3 separate regions of the Homo sapiens genome follow, and all the other regions are linked to region 2. The links are contacts of gene promoters, found by promoter capture Hi-C in human tissues and cell types (Jung and others, 2019). All regions are on one chromosome and are shown on one strand. Each heading gives the region's core, a stretch centred on a gene start or on the middle of the fragment in contact. The rest is flanking DNA. Distances are from core to core; before and after follow the strand shown. Region 1 overlaps LRRC7 (leucine rich repeat containing 7). Region 2 holds the start of LRRC7 (leucine rich repeat containing 7). Region 3 overlaps LOC105378789 (a long non-coding RNA gene).

The links. Contacts are between HindIII fragments. The study calls those that stand out against the background at their distance.
Region 1: a fragment that was not itself captured here is called in contact with the fragment with the promoter of LRRC7 in region 2 in 2 of the 25 tissues and cell types used here (dorsolateral prefrontal cortex and hippocampus).
Region 3: a fragment that was not itself captured here is called in contact with the fragment with the promoter of LRRC7 in region 2 in 2 of the 25 tissues and cell types used here (adrenal gland and aorta).

Annotation. Positions count from the first base shown.
Region 1 is chr1:69,649,155-69,653,186 of GRCh38, reverse strand. The region is part of intron 1 of LRRC7 (leucine rich repeat containing 7); the gene reads right to left. Among named protein-coding and RNA genes, the nearest start is that of LRRC7, 83 kb to the right of the region's middle. The HindIII fragment of the contact is 3,341 bases long and covers 689-4,029 here.
Region 2 is chr1:69,565,434-69,569,724 of GRCh38, reverse strand. LRRC7 (leucine rich repeat containing 7) reads right to left here and starts at 1,803. Exons shown (of 27, transcript NM_001370785.2): 1 at 1,084-1,803. The coding sequence starts at 1,085. It overlaps LOC105378789 (a long non-coding RNA gene), which reads right to left. Exons shown (of 12, transcript XR_947488.3): 12 at 3,875-4,291. RefSeq lists a silencer at 2,150-2,379. The HindIII fragment of the contact is 6,759 bases long and covers 1-4,291 here.
Region 3 is chr1:69,484,895-69,489,486 of GRCh38, reverse strand. All of the region lies in intron 1 of LOC105378789 (a long non-coding RNA gene), which reads right to left. Among named protein-coding and RNA genes, the nearest start is that of LINC01758, 54 kb to the right of the region's middle. The HindIII fragment of the contact is 9,481 bases long and covers 1-4,592 here.

The sequences.
Region 1 (4,032 bases), core at 1,110-3,609, 83 kb before region 2:
TCATGTGTAAATATTTTCTCCCATTCTGTAGTTGCCTTTTTATTCTGTTGATTGTTTTGTTATGCAGAAGTTTTTAGTTTGATGTTATCCCACATGTCTATTCTTACTTTTGTTGACCCTGTTTTTGGTGTCAAATCCAATAAATCATTGCCAAGACCAATTGGCAAGAAGCTTTTTCTGTGTTTTCTTTTAGGAATTTTATGGTTTCCCATCTTATCTTTAAATTTTTAATCCATTTTGAGTTGATTTTTGTGTGTGGGTATTCAGCTTTCCCCACACTATTTCTTGAAGAAACTATCCTTTCCCCATTGAATAGTCTTGATGCCATTGACAAAGATCATTTGAACATATATGAGTGAGTTTATTTCTCAGCTCTCTTTGTTCCATTGGTCTATATGTCTTTATGGCAGTAATATAATGTTTTAATACTGTAGTTTTGAAATCAAGCGATGTGAAGCCTCTATTTTGGTTATTATTATTTTTTTTTTGAAGACTGTTATGGCTATTCAGAGTCCTTTGAGGTTCCATGGGAGATAGGGGAGTTTTTCCAAATTATAGAATTGAAAAAACAATTACACAATTCACTTTAAAAATGCCATTGGGATTTTGGTAGAGATTGCATTGAATTTGTAGATTGCTTTGGGTAGCATGGGCATTTTAACAATATTAAGTCTTCAAATCCATGCACACAAGAGCCTCTTCATTTATTTAGGTCCTCTTCAATTCATTTTATCAATATTTAATAATTTTCAGTTTACAGGTCTTTTGCTTCCCTAATTATTTTTGTTGGTGTTACTTTAGATAAGATTAGTTTCTTAATTTCCTTTTTGAATTATTCATTGTTAATGTACAGAATGTAATTTATTTTTTGTGTGTTGATTTTGTATCCTGCAACTTTGCTGAACTGATATATTAGTTCTAACAGTTTGTGAATAGGGTTTTCTACGTATAACATCATGTCATCTGTGAACAGAGAAAATTGTACCTCTTTCTTATTTGTATGCCCTTTATTTCTTTTTCTTGCCTAATTGTTCTGAACAGTTCCTTGAGATGTAAGGAGAGTTGAACTCCAAATCCAAAGTATTCTGGCTTCTAATCAGGGCCCTAAGTAAGGCAAGACTATTACCAGTTGCTTGGGTAGCCATTCCAGGAGCTGAAATGCAGGATACACTCTCCACTCCTCTCCTTTCCTCCTGAAGGAGAAGCTTCAAGTTGTGTACCTTTTCTATTCACACCAAGTCATGCTGACTGGACCAAGCCATGCCCTCCTCTTCTTGTTCTCAGTGGGCCTCCAGGAATGCAAACTCTGCCAGTTCTGTCAGTGCTCTGAATGAGGTACTGACAGAAACCAGTCCCCCAGACAGCCCTCCAAAGAGCTAGAACTTTACATGCATGTTCCACTCTTCTCTTTTCCCTTGACCGAGAAGCAGGGAGCCAGGACATTCTCTCTTGGTGTTGGGAATGGGCTGATGCAGGTAAAGTAAAATTGCTCTTCTTACCTGTTTTAATGCAAGTGTTCCCAGCTTTGTGCTCACCTGGGATACTGCAACTTTTTAATTGGATTCTGGAATTCTCATAAAGGTATTTTGCTCCATGTATTATTGCTTAATCAATATTTCTGTGGAGGGGCTAGGACTTCTTATTATGTCATTTTACTGATGTCAGTACTCCCACAGTGCTTTTAACTTTTAAATAAATTATGTTAATTTTATCTGCCAGTGCTTTTAAAAATAACTTTGGTAGATACAGCAAGACAAAATGAAAACTCTTTGAATTGGCAGATATAATTGGATTTGCAAAGGTCCATTATGTCCCAAAGGATGCGTAATTTTGCTCTCAACTATAGAGAAAGTTATAGTTGCTCTTGCTTCAAATGTAGTGCACTTTTTTTTTCTAATCAGTACCATAGGATGATTTGTAAACCAGGTTAAACTTGCCTCAGAAAACAATGTTTTTAAAAATATATATCTTTAAATAAATATGCAGATTTGAAATTACTTATACAGTATATGAATAAAATATGGAAAAGTTAACATATTTATGCTTCTAAGTTCATGCCAAAACTAAGCTGTATTCATATGGTACCTCCAGCATGTCACCTAATTAGAAAGAGTTGACATTCGTCACTTATTTTCATTAATCTAGACATGCCAAACTGTCTCAGGGAATAATTTAGCTCGATGCTTCAGTCCATAATTTTGAAATTGACATCTATACTTGTCACTACTGCTGTAACTTTCATGTGAGGATAGCATTTATATCAGTGGCAGCTATAATCAAATGAAAAATGTGCTAAAATATACCCAGTAAATTAGGTAAGCTATCGACAGTGCCAAACCAATGATGCTTGCAATATGCTCCCAAATTCTGCCAAGGAGTATCTGAAAATTTTGAAGCACTCAGAGTATATTTTAAAAGAAATGATTAAGATTTTCTGATTATAAGAAATTGCACAACATATTTTGTTTAGGAAGCTATGGCTAAAAACACTAATTTTATACAAAGCTTAAAGACGTGTGTATCAAACACAGACAAAGACTTCACAGATAGCCTATAATGCATGCTTAATGAATATTTGCTACATGTATGAAGCAATGTATTCTTGTGTAACAAATGCCAAAGATGCTTGGCATTTTTTTTTTTTTTTGAGACGGAGTCTCTCTTTTTCGCCCAGGCTGGAGTGCAGTGGCGCGATCTCGGCTCACTGCAAGCTCTGCCTCCCAGGTTCACGCCATTCTCCAGCCTCAGTCTCCTGAGTAGCTGGGACTGCAGGCACCCACCACCACGCCCGGCTAATTTTTTTCATTTTTAGTAGAGACGGGTTTTCACCATGTTAGCCACGATGGTCTCGATCTCCTGACTTCGTGATCCACCCGTCCTGGCATCCCAAAGTGCTGGGATTACAGGCGTGAGCCACCGCGCCTGGCTGATGCTTGGCTTTTTATGAAAATGTTTTTCAATAATATTCCAAAGAATATTAAAAAACAAATTTGCTCTTCTTTTATAAGGAATAAAATTAATATGTGCCAGGGAAATAATTTTCCTTGAAGAAAAAACCAGAAAATTAATAATGGAGTAAGATTATTACTGTTGTGCTATGTCCTTGAGTTTCATTAGAAGAAAGAGTCACACTGACTTGAAATTAATATTTGTTTTGGAAAACATTGATGGATTCTCTAACTGTATCTTACCATCTCTTATCGCATGCTTGCCTGTCATCATCCATAAAGTATTCATATCTGTTAAATCTCCTTGAGGAGTGAGCCTAATCCTTATGCGACTGTCATTGAAGGCCAAGAATTATCCTGTGAGGGTGTTTTTGGTTTTTTTTTTTCAATCACTTTGATTCTTTAAGCCATCTTTACCACCCTTAAGCCGTTTTGTAATGTCTAAAGCTGCTTGCACAAAAAGCTGGAGGCAGTTTGTGAACTGCGTAAAAGAACCAGGCTTAGGAGCCTGTCTACCAAACCATATACTTTTGCATGGAATTGCATGTGCATGGAGGAAGGGGAGTCATTTTTCAATTAGCAAAGGTGCCATATGGGCTAGTGGTCTCTTTGTTGACATCTTTCCTAGAGGGTTACCAGAACTTCCCAAATTACTTCTAATCTCTATTATCACTTCCTTCCAATTTCATTATCTAAAGCAATCCCAGAATATTTTTGAATGCTCTAGATATTTAATTACCTTTTATATGTCATACACAAATCTTCAAAATCTGAAGCCTAGTAACATTTCCAGATTTCACTTCCTTTCTTCCGTAGTACTGTAGGTCTGCTTAAAATCTTGGTTAGGCAAAGCACATATATCATCCTCACTTCCCATAGCTTTCTCTCCCTTCAAAATTGAGGGAAAAAAATAAGAATAAAACAAGAACTAACAATTTGAGAATACTCACTGTAACTAGGCACTATTGTAGGTACTTTATGAAGTAAATAAGTTACTATTATAATTTCCACTTTATGTATGAATAAACTGAGGCAACAAAAAGTAAAGTAACTTGTACGTCATGTAACTGGTGAGTGGTGAAGC
Region 2 (4,291 bases), core at 554-3,053:
GTAGAGGGCGGAGGCGGGTCCTTTATTCAGCCCTGATGGCCGAGAAGTAGTGTAAGGAAGCAATCTTTCAGCCATCTCCGTTATTATGAAGTCACACTATTTTAAAAGGCAATCTATACAGTCCCCCAACCCCCGCCCCCATTCTTGACTCTGCAAACAGTAAGATTAGAGACCACTGGTAGCCAATCTAATAGTCCACGAGCCAGGGTGCCATGATTACCTTAATGCTAATGTGCTTCCCTCCCTCTTTCCACGTCGAATCCGAAACACGTCCTGCATCCTTAATAACTCGGAGAGGAGGACGCAAGATCCTCAAGGGGACCCAGCGCTGGATTGGGAATAGGCAGGTTCACCAGCTTCTCGTGCCACACAAAGGAGATGTGTGGGCAGGAGTTGTCTAGCTGACAGGGAGGGAGGCAAGGTTCTCCCTGACTCCCAGGGAACACGCTCCCCCACTTCTTTCCGTCCTCCAGTCTTTCATGTTCCTTCGTCCCCTCCATCCCCCCAAACCCCACCCTTTCCCTTCAATCCCAATCACATAAAAATCTTCTAATTGTATTTTTTCAAACAGACATCGAGACATTGATACAACACCTTCCAAGATAAAGAGACAAGTGCGTCCTGCCACAAGTGTGTGTGAGTGTGTGTGTGTGTGTGTCACGATCAAACACGCGCTTCATCCCTCAGACACCTCTGGGAAAAAAGCTGACTGGAGATACCCAAGATAATAACGAGGAGCTAAACCTAATTTCAGCGGAACCAATGGTCCCAGCACCAGCGCCCAACATTTACCTTTCCTTTTCGCAGTATGTAACCCTTTAAGGTCTCTTGCCAGCTCAAGCTACTCGGTGCTCCCATGCACCCGCCCAGTTAGCACCCCATTTCCAAATGCTCTGCAACCTACCACATCTTCGCCGCCTCCCTCGGCCACCGCACAAGCAGCTCCCCGCGAGCGCCGAAGCCTCCCGCCCTGCCACCCCCGCCCCCGGCCGGCCTCTGGGGTCCCACACCTCGCGCGCCTACGGTCGCCGCGGCCGGGCCCCCGCAGCACCCTCCGCCACGGAGCGAGCGTGCCTTACTCACATCGCCGGCGGGAGAAACTGCCCATGAGGTTTCGGAGAGCGTAGTCGTGCAGCTGCCAAGGGTTATTCCTTAAGTGTTCAGGGGTCCGCAGTGGAGTGGGCGCCAGGGTCTTCGGAGGAGAAGAGGAGGGAAGGAGTAGAAGGTAGGAAGAACAGGAGATAGAGGGGAATCCAGGAAGGTGCCACGTTAGACCATGATGCCAGTGCCCTTCAGGTGGACGGCTGGAGAGGTTCCCGCGGGAAGCGGCTGAGGGGAAGCCCGAAGCGCCGGCGGGGGAGGCAGGAGCGCGTCCACTCCCCAGCCTCAGCCTGCCCAGCGCGCCGCGCTAGCGACCGCAGCAGCAGCGGCGGCGGCGGCGGCGGTGGCGGAGGCGCAGCTCCCTCCCCGCCCCCAGAAGGCTCCACAGACAATAAATCCTGGGCGGAGAAGAGACAAGCAGGAAAGGCGAATCCTGCACCCAACTCCGTAACAACCCCTGCCCGTTGCCGCGCCTGTGCAGGGCGAGGATCCCCAGGGGCCAGGGCGCAGCGGGCGTCTCGGAGGGGCTGAGCGCTCCGCAACTGCAGGAGGCGGTGGCGGTGGCCCGAGTGGGCGGCTGCAGGTCCCGCCGGCGAGAACCCGCTGCACTGGGGCTGGGTGTCCGTGGCTTCAAGCCCGGTGTTCACCCGGAGTAGGGTCCTCCTCGGTGCAGTGGCTCGGCGCACAGGTGCCAGGATTGGCAGGCGAGGAGGCGCCGCTCATGGCTCTTGGCTGTGTCTCACCGCTCTCCCCGCCCCCTCTCTTTTTTCCCACCCCCTTTTCCGACGACACCAGCTGCAGCTGCTTCAAAGTGTGAAAAATGTCAAGGAGATTTTCCAATGATAGGAGGGGGTAACCATGTTCACAACCCTCGGTCTCTTTTTGAGATCCTCGCCTGTCCCTCTGACCTCTACTCCGGCTCCCCCAAATTATGAGAAGAAAAATCCCAGTCCTGCACAGGATTGAAACGCTAGCCTTCTCCCGGCTCCGTCACGATAGGCTGCTTTTCGAGAACGGGACGAGAGGCCGAGCTCTCTGGGTTCCTCTCGCCTCCGTGGTGTTCGAGGCAGGTGGCACGAATCTCAGCGCGGGGCGGAGCGCGGCTGCCGGCTCCTCCCGCTCGCGGGCCAGCCCCGGGCGCTCGGGCAGCGCGGCGCGGCTTTCTGCAGCGCGGCCGCCTGAGCGGCAGAAGCGGCTCCCGGCCTGTGCGCCTGCCTGAGCGCCCCTGCACCCGCACTAGCTCAGTGACGCTGAGCTCGTGGCTCCTCAGGCTGCTGCTCCTGCTATCTCAGCAAAGAGGCGGCCGGGAGCGCCTCCTCGGGGTTTCCTCCCCCGCCCGCCTTGCCTGCTGCAGGTTGTTGGCTGCCAAGGAGAAAAGTCTCCGCTTGTGCGTCAGGTCGCTTCACATCAGTCATGGCAGCGAACCTTGTGCCTGCTCTTAAGTCCTCTCCTCATTCTGGGGTTGCGGCTGCTGCCCTGGGAGTGCACAAAAAGGGAAGGGTTTTCCCAACTTCCCTTCATATATTCACCGCCCCTCCTCCTGCCATGAACATTCTCTCTGACACACACACACACACACACACACACACACACACACACACACACTCTCTCTCTCTCTCTCATATGCTCCCTTACGTAAAGGCACACACACTTTCTTCTTATACGCTTCTCTAAAGTCCCAGAAGCAGCAAGACATATCAATGAAGCTAGTACTATATTTACACTTTTTTTTTTTTTTTTTGAAACGGAGTTTCGCTCTTGTTGACCAGGCTGGAGTACAATGGCGCGATCTCGGCTCACTGCAACCTCTTCCTCCCCGGTTCAAGCGATCTTCCTGCCTCAGCCTCCCGAGTAGCTGGGATTACAGGCGCGTGCCACCACGCCCGGATGATTTTTTTTGTATTTTTAGTAGAGACGGGGGTTTCACCATGTTGCCCAGGCTGGTCTCGAATTCCTGACCTCAGGTGATCCACCTGTCTCGGCCTCCCAAAATGCTGGGATTATAGACGTGAGCCACCGTTCCCAGCCTATATTTACACTTTTATTCTCTACACACATCTAATGAATTACATCTTTAAAAAAGGATATATTATGCTGGTATTCTTTTGTGGAATATAGGCTATGTGGTTTTTGTTTCTTCATTACAAGAGAGAAAGAATCTTGTCTTTAGTTCTCTAACCTCGAACACAGTCAAGACTGTGCACAGCATTCAAATGCCACTCTGGGGGTGTGTGTAAGCTCACAGTTTGCCAAAAGAAAACACACCTGATTGTATTCTTAGATTTGGAATGCTAAAGTCTTCAAGGTCAAAAATTATGTTTCCTGGCTGCTAGAAATTGTCTAGGAAGAGACTTGAGAGACTGGCACCTAATGTGCGGAGGACCTAGAGAGGAATTATTGCCCACTTTATCTGGGCCATGAAGGTGGGCTGACTTTTAAGGACAACTTGCCAGTGTTTCATATCATTTGCATATAGAAAGGAAAAGGAGTATATTTTGAAAAGCCAGATCGTTTTTTATATTGTTACAAAACACCAAAAGAAAGGGCTCTGAAAATGGCAAGGAAATGGAATAAAATTGTTAAAAGAATTTTTTTTGAATTGACTACTGTTGTGCTCTGTTTTTTTTTCACCTATAGTGTTGTCCTTTTAAACATTTTGCCACATCTCAATGTCTCTGCTGGATGAAGTGACATGAAATATTTTAGGTGCTGATTAAAAATGTATTGACAAAATAACCTGGCGCAACAATTACACAATTATAGCGGTCCTTTATGGGTTTCCAGTTCTTTTTAATACAGTCAACACAGTACTTTCACATATATTCTTTCATTTAATCCTTTCTTAAATCTAGGTGGTGGATAATCTAATCCACACTTACAGGAAGGGCACAAAGGCTCATCTCATAAGGGTGTCCAGTTGCCCTGCACTTGAGCCCAGAATTTCTTATTTTAACTTCAGGCTTCATTGTTTTGTATCAAAATATTTGACAAAAATTATTCTGTTTAAAAACACAGCCAGTTATGAGTAACTGCAGATCCTTGCATACAGGCAGCATACCTACCAATGAAGTTACCTTCTGTGTGTTAAGTGGAAGTAGTTTCCTACGTGGAAACAAACGTATTCCTTTCCAATGGAGAAAAAGATAATTTTGGAACCCCGAATTAAAAATTGATGGTGCTGATATAACAC
Region 3 (4,592 bases), core at 1,341-3,840, 81 kb after region 2:
AAATTACATATACATATATAAAATATATAATCAAATACGTTGCTACTATTATTATTTTAAACACTGTCATGTGTTAGGTCAATTAAGAATAAAAAATGGAAAATATTTTACTTTCATTTATTCCTTCTTTGATGTTCTTCCTTTTTAAATGTAAATCTGAGTTTCTGACCTCTACTATTTTCCTTCTTTCTGAAGAAATTTTTTTTAACATTTTTTGCAATGCAGGCAACAATGCCCTTGGCTTTTGTTTGCCTGAGAAAGTTTTATTTTTCCTTCACTTTTGAAAGGTAATTTTGCAGGGTAACAGAGTTCTATACTTTTTGTTTTGTTTTCTCTCAACACTTCAAATATTTCACTCTATTAATTTCTTGCTTGTATTTAATTCTTGTATTTGCTCCTCTATAGGTAAGGTGTGGTTTTCCTCTGGCTCTTTTCAAGAGTTTGTCTTTGTCTTTGATTCTCTGAAATTTAAATATAATATTTATTTTTTGGTGCAGTTTTTTTAAAACATATCTTCTGCTTGGTCTTCTCGGAGCTCCCTGAATTTGTGGTTTGGTGTTTGACATTAATTTGGGGGAAAGTCTCAGGCATTCTTGCTTCAAATAGTGCTTCAGTTCCTTTCTGTCTTTCTTGTCCTTTGGCATTCGCATTACACATTAGCATTACCTTTTGTAGTTGTCCCACAGTTCTTGAATATTCTGTTCTTTTTTCTAGTTTTTTTTTTTTTTTTCTCTTCACTTTTCAGTTTCAGGAGTTTCTATTGTAATACACTCAAGCTCAAAGATTCTTTCCTCAGATGTGTCCAGTCTACTAGTAAGTCCAGCAAAGGCATTTTTCATTTCTGTTAGTGTTTTTGATCTCTAGCATTTTTTTAGATTCTTTCTTATAATTTTCGCCTCTGTTTACACTGCCAATTTGTTCTTGCATGTTGTCTGCTTTTTTCCATTAAATTCTTTAACATATTCATCACAGATTTTTAAAAATTTCTGATGCGACAATTCTAACATTCTTGCTGTATCTGACTCTGGTTCTGATTCATGTTCCATCTCTTCCCTTTTTAGTATGCCTGTAATTTTTTGTTGGAAGTTGTGCATGATGTTCTGGTAAAAGGAATTGTGATGAATGAGACTTTGATAATAGTGTTAAGGTGTGAAGGAAAGGGATGCATACTGTGGTCCTATGATTAGGTTTCAGTCTTTTGGTGAGCCTGTGCTCATGAACTATGAACTTCTCAAGTGCTTCTCAGTGTTTCTCCCCTCTTAGGTAGGACAGGATGGCTAGAGGGCCTAGAACTGGCTATTTTCTTCTCCCACCTGGAAGCCTAGCGGGAACTTGAGTTGGGCATTTTCTTTTCCCTAGGTAGGTCAGACTCTGATAAAAACCCCAGCAGATTAGGTTCTGGTAAAATAGCTTCTCCTGAGAGCAGGCCTTGTGAAGAATAGACTGTTCTGGTGTATTTTAAGATGGCTCCTTTTTGTGAAGGACCTCTTCAAGGAGAACTACAAACCACTGCTCAACAAAATAAAAGAGGATAAAAACAAATGGAAGAACATTCCATGCTTATGGATAGGAAGAATCAATATCGTGAAAATGGCCATAGTGCCCAAGGTAATTTATAGATTCAATGCCATCACCATCAAACTACCAAAGACTTTCTTCACAGAATTAGAAAAAACTACTTTAAATTTCATATGGAACCAAAAAAGAGCCCGTATTGCCAAGTCAATCCTAAGCCAAAAGAACAAAGCTGGAGGCATCATGCTACCTGACTTCAAACTATACTACAAGGCTACAGTAACCAAAACAGCATGGTACTGGTAACAAAACAGAGATACAGAACAATGGAACAGAACAGAGCCTTCAGAAATAATACCACACATCTACAACTATCTGATCTTTGACAAACCTGACAAAAACAAGAAATGGGGAAAGGATTCCCTATTTAATAAATGGTGCTGGGAAAACTGGCTAGCCATATGTAGAAAGCTGAAACTGGATCCCTTCCTTACACCTTATACTAAAATTAATTCAAGATGGATTAAAGACTTAAACGTTAGACCTAAAACCATAAAAATCCTAGAAGGAACCTAGGCATTACCATTCAGGACATAGGCATGGGCAAGGACTTCATGTCTAAAACACCAAAAGCAATGGCAACAAAAGCCACAATTGACAAATGGGATCTAATTAAACTAAAGAGCTTCTGCACAGCAAAAGAAACTAACATCAGAGTGAACAGACAACCTACGAAACGGGAGAAAATTTTTGCAATCTACTCATCTGACAAAGGGCTAATATCCAGAATATACAAAGAACTTAAACAAATTTGAAAGAAAAAATCAAACAACCCCATCAAAAAGTGGGCAAAGGATATGAACAGACAATTCTCAAAGGAAGACATTTATGCAGCCAAAAGACACATGAAAAAATGCTCATCATCACTGGCCATCAGAGAAATGCAAATCAAAACCACAATGAGATACCATCTCACACCAGTTAGAATGGCGATCATTAAAAAGTCAGGAAACAACAGGTGCTGGAGAGGATGTGGAGAAATAGGAACACTTTTACACTGTTGGTGGGACTGTAAACTAGTTCAACCATTGTGGAAGACAGTGTGGCGATTCCTCAGGGATCTGGAACTAGAAATACCATTTGAACCAGCCATCCCATTACTGAGTATATACCCAAAGGATTACAAATCGTGTTGCTATAAAGACACATGCACACGTATGTTTATTGCAGTACTACTCACAATAGCAAAGACTTGGAACCAACCCAAAAGTCCAGCAATGATAGACTGGATTAAGAAAATGTGGCACATATATACCATGGAATACTATGCAGCCATAAAAAATGATGAGTTCATGTCCTTTGTAGGGACATGGATAAAGCTGGAAACCATCATTCTCAGCAAACTATCGCAAGAACAAAAAACTAAACACTGCATGTTCTCACTCATAGGTGTGAATTGAACAATGAGAACACTTGGACACAGGAAGGGGAACATCACACACCAGGGCCTGTTGTGGGGTGGTGGGAGGAGGGAGGGATAGCATTAGGAGATATATCTAATGTAAATGACCAGTTAATGGGTGCAGCACACCAGCATGGCACATGTATACATATATAACAAACCTGTATGTTGTGCACATGTACCCTAGAACTTAAAGTATAATAAATAAATAAATATATATATATATATATATATATATATATATATATATATATATATAAAACAACAACAAAAAAACCCAAAAAACAATAAAATGGCTCCTTTTCTCCTCTCCCTGACAGAAGCAGGGAGGGGATTTTTTTTTCCCTGACATTCATTGTGAGGACCTGGTAGGTCTCCTGGAGGGAAAACTCACTAAAGCATGAAGGCTGTCCTATGATTACGTCTACCTGAGATTTTTAACTCTCATACTTGTCCATATCAAGCCTCCAGCAAGTGGTCAATTATAGTTTAGTTTTCCTACTTCTTCAGTAGTTCATGTGGAGGTTCCTACCGTGGGTTTCTGCTCCAGTGAAGTGTGATTCTCTGTATCTGCCTGTCTGTCTCTCTAATTTTGGGAGTAGCAGTGTTTGAATTGAGTGACCTGAAATCCCTGATAGATGTAAGAAGAGTTGTTGATTTCTCAGTTTGTTTAGCTTTTCACTTGTTAGGGTAGAGTGGTGACTTCTAAGCTCTTTATATGCCTGACTGGAAACCAGGAATTTGTGGTTTGTGATTTTTCCTAAATAGTAAATTATTTTTCCCCATCTAGAGAAAATTTATTTTCTTTCTAGTTTGAAGAAAATAAGGCCATTATTCATAATGTAATGGGACCATTAGCATAATATTTCAAACTTCATTGATTCTTTTTCAACTACCAAAATCATGCTGTTTGTTGATTTGATTCAAGAAAAGGCCAGAACATGTGTCCATAGGATTGTATATCACTCTTGCTAATAAAAAATAGAGACCAAGGTTAGATTGTTTCCTGATGAGCATAAGCAAAGCAATGTACCTAGTTTTACCTGTACGTGATAGACATCTGTATAGGCTGATGAATTCTTTTTATATTTAAAGCACCCTTGAGACAATCTTTGGTCAATCAAAGTCACTTTCCAGGCCCTGGGAAAATGTCAGGAAAATAATAACATGTATTTCTGGGTACTTACCAGGTCCTTGTAACAAAATTTGCCTTTGGTAGATGACTTAGTAGGTTTTCAATAAGTAATTATGGATTTAAAAGAATAGAAAAGTTCAGAAAATAGTTTAGCACGAACATTAGAATCATCCATGAAGCTTTTAAAACTACAGATACTGGGCTCTACCCATTAAGTTTTCTGATTATGTAGACCTGAAGTAATACTTAGATTTATGGATTTTAAGAAATTTGAGCAAATAATACTGAAGCATATGAACTGGGCCAACTTGATAGGGTAAAATATACACGTCACCTATTTGGCAGCTCCTCATGAACTATTTCCTGTCTTACTCAGTATTGATGTAGACTAGATGAAGATGGAACCACAAATGAGATATCTCATTGATATTGTGACACCACAGCATAAGTAGGGGCTATGAAGTCATTTTTACATTGATT